2 separate regions of the Homo sapiens genome follow, and region 1 is linked to region 2. The links are contacts of gene promoters, found by promoter capture Hi-C in human tissues and cell types (Jung and others, 2019). All regions are on one chromosome and are shown on one strand. Each heading gives the region's core, a stretch centred on a gene start or on the middle of the fragment in contact. The rest is flanking DNA. Distances are from core to core; before and after follow the strand shown.

Evidence for each region. The method cuts DNA at HindIII sites, captures the fragments that hold promoters and counts their contacts. A contact is called where the count stands out against the background at its distance.
Region 1: a contact is called between a fragment that was not itself captured here and the fragment with the promoter of BPIFC in region 2, in 1 of the 25 tissues and cell types used here (dorsolateral prefrontal cortex).

What each region holds. Positions count from the first base shown.
Region 1 is chr22:33,108,552-33,113,468 of GRCh38, reverse strand. LINC01640 (long intergenic non-protein coding RNA 1640) reads right to left here. Exons shown (of 4, transcript NR_134617.1): 1 at 4,844-4,917; 2 at 4,236-4,366; 3 at 2,826-3,060. It also overlaps a transcript of LARGE1 not described here. Among named protein-coding and RNA genes, the nearest start is that of LINC01640, 2.5 kb to the right of the region's middle. RefSeq lists an enhancer at 2,031-3,230. The HindIII fragment of the contact is 5,583 bases long and covers 1-4,237 here.
Region 2 is chr22:32,462,115-32,467,212 of GRCh38, reverse strand. BPIFC (BPI fold containing family C) reads left to right here and starts at 2,767. Exons shown (of 17, transcript NM_174932.3): 1 at 2,767-2,839. The HindIII fragment of the contact is 9,351 bases long and covers 296-5,098 here.

The sequences.
Region 1 (4,917 bases), core at 197-2,696, 650 kb before region 2:
TTGGGAGGTCAAGGCGGGTGGATCACCTGAGGTCGGGAGTTCGAGACCAGCCTGACCAACATGGAGAAACCCCGTCTCTACTAAAAATACAAAATTAGCCAGGCGTGGTGGCACATGCCTGTAATCCCAGCTACTCAGGAGGCTGAGGCAGAAGAATTGCTTGAACCTGGGAGGCAGAGGTTGTGGTGAGCTGAGATCATGCCATTGCACTCCAGCCTGGGCAACAAGAGTGAAACTCCATCTCAAAAAAAAAAAAAAAAAAAGATAATTAAGTGACGTAAATATACATAAGGCTCTAGACTTACTTCCTGCCATATAGTTGGTGCTTAAAATAGTTTCTATTGATAGTTTGAGTCTTAAAATGAGCATATATTCCTTTAAAACCTACAAAAACAACAAAACATTTATATTTTGAGTTGAACCCTAACATGTCATTTCTCTGAGCAACGAGACTTGAATGCATTTAATAGAGCATGACATTCTCTCACTGTATCTTCATTTCTCTTGGATTTTTATTTCCTCTGACCAATTTTAACACCTGCCCTCCTGACATGATGATTGATTTTCCTGGCAGAGAAGACAGAGACAAAGAGGACTACGGTTAGGGGTGGTACTTCTCCTGTGGGCTTTTTGTACCAGACTAAAAATAGCTTTTTCACACATCTGTGCTGCTTGCAGGCTTTTGTTTCCTGACCCTCTTCAAAAGGACTCCAGCCTGCTTGCCCCACCTGTTCACCATTTGGACACATTCTCTTTGTGTCCTAACTCTCAGAAGAGCTCACCAAGAGAGCACATTGACCTCTTTACACAACAACCCTTCCTACCTCTCTCTGTCCTTCCTCACCAGGACTATTTATACCTTTTAAACAAGATTTCAGTCTTGAAAAGGGCCTTTTCTGGCACTCACTGTCTATTCACTTATTTCATTCATTTAAGCAGCATGCCCCGAATGCGCCCTGTGATATTTGCCAACATGACTTCCACTACTAACAATGGTAATAGTCGCTTCCATCTTGCCAGCGCATACGATGTGGCAGATGCTGTGCTATGCGCTGTATATGCATTCTCTCGTTTAATCCCCTAAAAACTCTAGGATGCACATACTATTACTGTCCTCCATAAACAATGGGGAAAAATGTGAGACTTAACTCAGTGAAGGTTAAGTAACTTAAGTGAGGTTAAGTAACTTCCTTGAAGCCATAGCAAGTGGCACAGCCATCCACTTTTCTCGATCCCACTTTTGTCTTTCTGGCTCAGGCCACCACCCATCCTCTGGACTAGTTCATCAGCCTCCTAACTGGGCTGCCAGCTCCAGCCTTGACCCCCTGCAAACTATTCTCTACACAGGCACAGTAAAGTTTTAAAAACACATGTCAAGCTATTCCCTTGCTTAAAACCCTTCAATGGCTCCTCCCTTCTCTTGGGATAATGTGCTAAGTCCTTATATGGCTTTGAACCCTCAGATCTCAAGCCTTCATTTATTTCCCATATTCTACGTTCCAGCTATATTGGACTTTATTTGTCCCCAGGCCTTCCACTGTCTGTTCCCTCAGTTGTAACACTCTTCCTTGCTTTCCACTGTCATTCCTGGGAGAAAATAAAGGCATCTCTCTTGCTTCCCCGCCCCATAATTCCTCCAGAAGCACATAAATTCCTCAGTAATTTCATGCATTTATAAGGTTTCTATTACATCATTTATTTCATCACAACCCCCTACAGATGAGGGAGCTGACCTCAAGCAACCTTCTCAAAATCAGAGTTCTAGCAAGAGGCAGAGGTGGGATGCAAATGCATATGTCTCTCTGACTCGACACTGTGATCTTTCCTCTGATCTTTGTTGCCATGACGTTTTTTGAGGTTAAAAACAACAGTAGATAAATGAGTCTGGACGGGGGGAATTGTCAGTGAGGCTGAAATTAATCCAATCAGCTAGGGGAAAGGAATCTTATCCTATGCCTTTGGGGGTGGGAAGGTCAGGAGTTGGGCTCCAGCTGCAGAGTGGGTTTCTGCTTTCCAAATTAGGGTCTTTTCCTTGCCTACCTTTGTGTGGCTATAATCATAGAAGCTGTTTTATTAACGCCCTTGGTAAAGCCCAGCAAGATGATACATCCTTAGCAACAAAGGGTTAGCTGGGGCCAGTCCTACGGAGTCAGAGTCTCACAAGGGACACTTGGAGGAGAGCAGAAAGGAAATCCACCAAGGAAGCGGCGATCCTGAGAAACCAAGGTTCCAGAAATGGGCTTCAGAGGATTCTTACCACCTCTCCCCCATCTCTCCTCAACCCAGCCCTCACCCATTCACTTGGGGAAATTAGGGAGGTTTGATAATAACTACAACCAGCTCCTCCTAATTAATTGCCAGGTCTCAAAAGTCACTGGTGCCTAGTGGTATGATAAAAGGCTTAGTGTCTTTTATCTGTCTTGGGCCCCACCCAGTTTGGCATTCTTTAAAGCATGCTCAACACACATCATACAGCTTGATCTTTATATAAGCCTCCTAAAAGCAGAGCTTTTTTGTTTACCTCTGCCTCACATGGAATTTTCCCCTTTGTTGTTTTTATTATCTAAGCGATACATATTTATTATGAAAGAAATAGGCCAACAGAAAAGCAATGACTCAAACCACCATCAGCTTGGCATTGTGACTGATGACCAAATCTGCCACTACAACAGAATGCCAAAAACCTCCTGCCAGATGGTAAACAACTAGAAGAACCAAGTCTGCAGCCGTGCATGGTAGGAAGGCACGGATTGGGGAGTAGCCCCAGTTTGGACTTGGACTTGGAACCAAATTCCGCGCTGTGCGAACTGTGCAGAAATTCTTACTCAGACCGTTGGAACAATAAGGACATCTGTTGGCCCACATAGCAGGAAGCTTCAGGATTGGCTTTATCCAGTGGTCTCTGTGATGCTCCTGGCCATTCCCACCGCTGCACCAGTGTCACGCACAAGCTTCTTGTGAGGTGGCTGCAGTATCCCCAGAACTCATATCCACACACAGCAATGTCAGAGGATCAAACTGGCTCCTGCTGATGCTTTCTCCAGAGAGAGAGGACAATATCTGCAGAAGCCCCAGAAAATTTCCCCTTGCACCTTTTTTATTCAAAACGTACGCTCATTTCTGAACTAATCCCTACAGCTGGCAGGATGCTCTGCACTAATTGGCTTAGGCCTGAATTCTCCCACTGGAAATGGAGATGTGATTTCTGTGACTAGCTCACATTAATCAGGCCCCACCCCTGCAGATGGTGTGGGGTAGACATTGCAATGTCAATAGCAATTGTCTGGCCTTGAACAGGTTATTTAACTCCTCTGAGCATCAATGTCCCCACTTAGAAAATGGGAATAGTCAGACAGTTTTGGTGGTGGACAGTATCTGAGATAATTTATGTGAAATGACAAAATTTGATGCTGAACACTTAGGGGATGAGTAAGCGTGTTAGTTCACTTTGCATTGCCGTAAAGGATTCCCTGAGACTGGGTGATTTACAGAGAACAGAGATTTATTTGGCTCACGGTTCTACAGACTGTGCAATAAGCATGCTGCTGGCATCTGCTTCTGGTGAGGGCCTCAGGAATCTTACAATTATGGCAGAAGATGCAGGTGGAGCAGGTGGTGTCACATGGCAAGAGCGGGAGCAAGAAGGAGAGGAGGAGATGCCAGGCTCCTTTAAACAACCAGATCTCCAGTGAACTCATTATTGCAGGGAGGACACCAAGTCATTCTTGAGAGATCTGCCCACGTAATTCAAACATCTCCCACTCCCACTAGGCCCCACCTCCAACATTGGAGATCACATTTCAACATGAGATTTGGAGGTGGCAAACATTGAAACTATATCCATAAGTGAATAAATGTTTGATAAAATCCATTAATTAATTAATGGTAACTTTAGGTAGCAATAAGCAAATAAAGGTACATTTCCTCATCCCCTTCTGGCTGGACCTTTTGGCAGGCGATGACTTAAGAAGGTCCTTGAATCAGGCATGGTGGTGCATGCCTGCAGTCCCAGCTAGTCAGGAGGCTGAGACGGGAAGATCACTTGAGCTCAGGAGTTCCAGGCTGCAGTGTGCCATGATCATTCCTATAAATAGCCACTGCACTCCTGCCTGGACAACAGAGCCAGATCCTGTCTGTTAACTTTTTTTTTTTTTAATTTAAAAAAGAAAGTCCTTGAAACAGAGTTAAGCATGTCAAAAGTTTGCCAGAGAAAGCCCCAACTTTAGCAACCAAACCTGGCTTGTTAGATGGTAGAGAGATGGGGCTCTGTGTTGAGACTTCCTGGGTTTGAATCCAGAACCTTCAAATTACTGGCCAGGTGACCTTTGAAATGTGACCTCCTCTCCCCAAGCCTCAGTTTTCTCCTCTGTGAAATGGGTCAATAAAAGGCAACCTTCATTGAACACAATGTATTGGACAGACATTATTTTAAACATTTCACAGGTAGAATTTTATTAAATCCTTTCCACAACCTCATCAGCTTGACACTTTTATTACCTCATTATAAAGATAAGAAAACTAGGTCATGGGGAGATTAAGCTACTTGCCTAAATGTGGAGCCAGGACCTTAACACAAATAATCTAGCTTCAGAGCATGCATTCATAATAATTAAATTCTACTGCCTCTCAGTAATAATAGTAGACACCTCAGGGGCTTTTTGTGGTGATAAATGACATAATACATATGCAATGCTCAGGAGGCTCAGCAACAGTAGTATAATTGCTAATAATAATATTAGTAATTATTATTATTACTATGTGGAGGTAAATGATGTTTCCACATAAGCTCAAAACTTCCACCCCATTGTCAGAAAAATCTTCGCCATAGAGTTGATGTACTTACAGGATTCTACTAGTTCCCCTGTTTCCAAAGAAAAACTTCAGCTTTCCCTGATCCATCCCCCAACCCCCATCCTT
Region 2 (5,098 bases), core at 1,518-4,017:
GCGTGAGCCACCACGCCCAGCCGATTGTTGGTTTCTTTCTAACAGAGAAAAGGAATTGAGAATGAGCAGGGGATGGGCTGGGCAGGGGCCAGACAGTGAAGGTGGGAGCAGGGGAAGAAGATGGAGCCAAGAAGCTGCTCTGGAGAGGAGAGAAACGAAAGAGGAGACCTCGGACCCTGGAGAAGGACAGGGAGAGAGGGGGCGGGGGAGGAAATTGATGTTGCCACCCGGGGAAAATAGTGAGGAAAAGGTAGAAAGATGTAGAGGTGTTTTGTGATTTTTTTTTTCCATATAGTGCTTTTGATGTTGTCCTTCATCTTCCATGTTGTCCTTCGTCTTCCATGTCTAGCTCTGTATTTTTTCTAATGCACAGTACAATTTCAAGAGCTTCTCTGCATAGCGCCTGAACTCATCTTCCACACTTTCAGTAGCACATGCACGTGGGAAGCTGCCTGCAATGATCTCATTCATTTCTGTGGCTTTAACTCCACCTTTCGGATGATGACTTAGACATTCATATTTCCAGTTGACCTCTTCCCTGAACTCTACCCACCTGACATCACCATTTACATCTCGAATACCATAACTTCTGCCCCAACTCCATTTCAGACAAACTGGCTCACCTTTGCAGTTCCCTCCACCTTTTCCTTTCAGCACTTTGCCTGCCTGGCTTCCAACGGTCACATCTCAGCGCAAATAATCACCTCCTCAGAGACGCCCACGTGGGTATCCTGATAAAATAAGCCCACCTCCCCCAGTTGCATTGCTCTACCTATTACAAGACCACCTTACCAACAACATTCCCTTAGTTCCGTCACAGTACATGTCACAATTTATACATTTTTGTTTATTTTATTGTTTGCTTATTTATTTTGTCTCCATCGACTAGAACATAAACTCCTCGTGGACAAAAATTTCATCTTTTTTGCTGAAGAGGACTTTGCACATTGTAGGTGCTCAGTAAATCTGTTGATTGAATGAATGAATTCATCTATGATGACCGACAATAAATGATCCCATGAAGAGCGTCTCTGCACCGTATCATTATTGATACGGCCACGTGCTAATGAGTAGAATTTCACAGCAGTTTACAGTTTTAATAGCGCATTCTCATGTGTTATTATGTTTTTCTTCACCAGAACCAATCAAGGAAGTTACTATTTCTATCCCCACTTTACCTTAAGGAAACTCAGTTCAAATCAGTAAGTATAACCCAAGGTATAACTCCCCTGAGAAGCTGTGAGAAGTATGGACAATGCCAAGTGAAAGCGTCTGTGGTTCCTTTCAGACTGACTTATCATCCTGATTTTCCCAGGACTGTTCTGGTTTTAGTACTGAAAATCCTGCATTCTTGGGAAACCAGGACAGTTGGTCACCGGGTCTTACCCAGAAAAGTGTAGATAAGCCATAAGAACTTCATGCAATCAGGCTGGGTGCGGTGGATCATGCCTGTAATCCCAGGACTTTGGGAGGCCAAGGCAGGTGGATCACTTGAGGTCAAGAGTTCAAGACCAGCCTGGCCAACATGGTGAAACCCCATCACTACTAAAAATACAAAAATTAGCCAAGTTTGGTGGTGCACACCTGTAATTCCAGCTACTCAGAGGGCTAAGGCACAAGAATCGCTTAAACCCTGGAGGCAGAGGTTGTAGTGAGCCAAGATCATGCCACTGCACTCCAGCCTGGGTGACAGTGAGACTGTCTCAAAAAAAAAAAAACCAAAAAACAAAAAAAAAAACTTCATACAATCAAATCCCTGGCCATCTAAAATACATTAATGGCCGGGTATGATGGCTCACATCTGTAATCCCAGCACTTATGAAGCCAACACGGGTGGATCAATCACATGAGGTCAGGAGTTCGAGACCAGCCTGGCCAATGCAGCGAAACCCTGTCTGTACTAAAAATACAAAAAATTAGCTGGGCGTGGTAGCGCACTCCTGTAATCCCAGCTACTAGGGAGGCTGAGGCAGGAGAATTGTTTGAACCCAGGGGGCGGAGGTTGCAGTGAGCCAAGATCGCTCCACTGCACTCCAGCCTGGGTGACAGAGTGAGACTCCATCTCAAAAAATAAATAAATAAAAATAAAAATAGATAAAACACATTAACTAAAATGAATTTATTGGAGATGAGAGTAGGGCTGGAGTTTGGAATCTGAAAATGTTAAGTTGCATAATAGTTGATGAACCCACCCACCCAACTTAGGTTTAAGGAATGCTGGAACAGTAAGTCATTAATAACATTCTGAAAAGGAGCGGACGGACACTGAGAGATGCCAACTGAGGTCCTACCCTGAGTGATAAGGTAACTAGGTCAGCCCGATTGTCAAGCCTCATGCTTTCAGACTGAATCTGATGATCCACCACAAGTCCCAAAGGTATTCTGGGCAGTAGTAGAGCCATCCACCGCAGGCACCCTGACCAGAAGGAACCAGCTTATGATTCCAGACAGGAAAATTCTTCCTCTTCCAATGCAGTTTAACACCGTTTTCAATCATTTTGGTAAAGTAGCCATCACAATTTCACAAGTGGTGTGTGTGTGTGTGTGTGTGTGTGTGTGTGTGTGTTTTGCAGGAAGATAATTATTGCATAGGTGGCACTGTCTGTTTATCTAGGTAGATACTGTAGTGCTCATTCATGCCATTGGGTAATTGTAGTGAAGCAATTATGTATCACATTTTGAAAGAGGCATTAAAAAAATTCACCACTGAGATGAGTCAGACTTAATTATCTTGGCTTTTTAGCAGCTGAGTTTAAGGCGCAAGGTGGAGAACACATCAGCTTCAAAGGCAGAGAGAATCGAAGGTGCTCTCCAGCTTTGGACACTTCCTCTGCTTGAGGTAAGACTCATGAACAAACTTCAGGTCTCTGCCAGCCATGATCTCCAAACTGGAGATGTCCCAGATTTGGTAGGACACTTTGAACAGGCAGCTGTCATATATCCTGGGTTATTATTATTGTCTGCCTAGATTTTTCTGTATCTTTGTTTGTTTGTTTGTGTGATGTCACATATGCGCACCTGGAGGCTTCTTAGGCAAAAGCTTTAGTGACAGCTAAACAGCCATAAGAGAGAAAAGAGTTGGTTTAAACCACCTACTTAGTTTTGCATCATGGAACAATGTTAAGAGGGTTGCTCAGTGATCTGGACTTATTTTTGCCTCCATTTCAGAGGGGAACCCAGCACAGTGGCAGAAAATTCTATCTTGTCTCTCAAAATCAGCATGGTTAGGACTAAGGAGTTGTTATAATCTCTGTGCTTTCAAGGCAGGTCTTAAAGCACATCAGTGACCTAGATCCTGCCAGAGCAAAACTAGCCACCCACTTGCCTGGACTGTTGAACTTGTTGGTGTTAGGCATAGAGTTTTGGGGAAAAGACATGCTATGAATTCTCAAGGTCCTTGTCATTAGAGATGTTGCTATAAAACTAGATGTGAGGAGTGGATCCCTTGAAATATTCTGCCCACGTTCCATACCTGTCGATTTAGACTTCTTATGTACGGTCATTTTGTCTTAACCAATATGTCGGAATACCCTTCTAGTTTAGACTTCTTTAAACCTGTTGAACTTAATTTTTCAACCTGCGCCTCTGTTTTGAAGGCTACATTTTACTCATTCATTACTCCCTTAATCGGTTTTTCCAGAGTCAGTCAAAGCTCTTGCCAAGCAGCAGTAGTAGTAGGACCATCTGTGAGTTTCAGGTGTTTTCTAAATTGGACTGGCATTTTCTTAGCTGTCAGGATGACTCACACAAGGACCATTTAATTTAGGAGTATTATTCTGTCTGTGTATTTGTATGGAAAAATAATGACTACTGAGATTTTGAATCTTGGAAAGAAGCAATTCCCCAGAAGCAACAAAATAGATAACTTGCTGGTGGGGTTTTTAAGTGATCTTGGATCCTTTTAACAGGCAACTAGCCCTGCCTGCACTTGTCAGCCAAATTACTTAACCTTTTAGTAGTCATCACCTTGCTTGACAAGGTTCCTTTCCTCCCCTGCCCATAAGTTATCATCGTAACTGAACAATTCAATGAAAAGTTATGTACAATTCACCCCTTCATACCCCAGTAATTTCTTTCACTCATAAAATTTCTAGAGGAAAAATATGTTTTCCTGCCTGTAATTTTGGATTCCTGGATCTCCATCAAAGTGTACCACTTCAGAAACTTTTTTTAACCAAGAAGGGAAAACAGGTTTTACTGCTGGCAGGGAATTTAAAACTCCAGTTGTGTCCAAGAAAATAAGAAGGGATTTGCACTGTGATGCTTGAACGTTTCTAGATGCTTATTGAATTTTTCCACCTTGAAAATGGTGTTTGGTTTTCTGTGCACATGTACCCTAGAACTTAAAGTGTAATAAAAAAAATTGAGTAACTTTTAAACAACAACAACAAAAAGGAAAATGGTGTCAAGCAACTCCTATTTAAAATTCCCAGATGAAAATGAAAACCCTAGCATGTATCGAGTCATTCAATAAAAATAAATTCATCAACACTAGAATTAGGAACCAGAAGAACAAGGTTGGGTTCCCAGGTGCCTTACTTACTGTGGGATCTTGGACGAGTCATCAGATTCTCTAAGCCTCCATGTCCACGTGTCTAAAATGGGAGTAAGATAATAAGAACATCCACTTCAAAGAACTGTGAGTTTTGTAAAGGGTAAAGAAATAAAAATTTATTATTTTAGTTGTTATTCCATTCACAAGTAATATTTCTTCTCTGGTTTATTATGTTTTTTTCACTATAGAAATGGAGAGCTCTATATTATATATGATAGTTTGGTTTTTCCTTTTTTTCTAACCATTTGTAGAACCTTTCTTAGTTGACTGGAATCTTTTAAGTCAGTCAGTTGATCAGTTAGCACATATTAATTTGGGTCTTACCATGTGCCAGGGAGAGATATCATGTCTGCCTTAATTTGCACACAGTCTAATAGGTACAGACATTTTGGTCTTAACATTCTTTCCCATTGCATTCCATTGCTATGAAAATATTTTTCTTTTTTTTTTCTTTTTTTTCTTTTTTCTTTTTTTTTTTTTTTTTTTTTTGAGATGGAGTCTCGCTCTGTCGCCAGACTGGAGTGCAGTGGCACAATCTTGGCT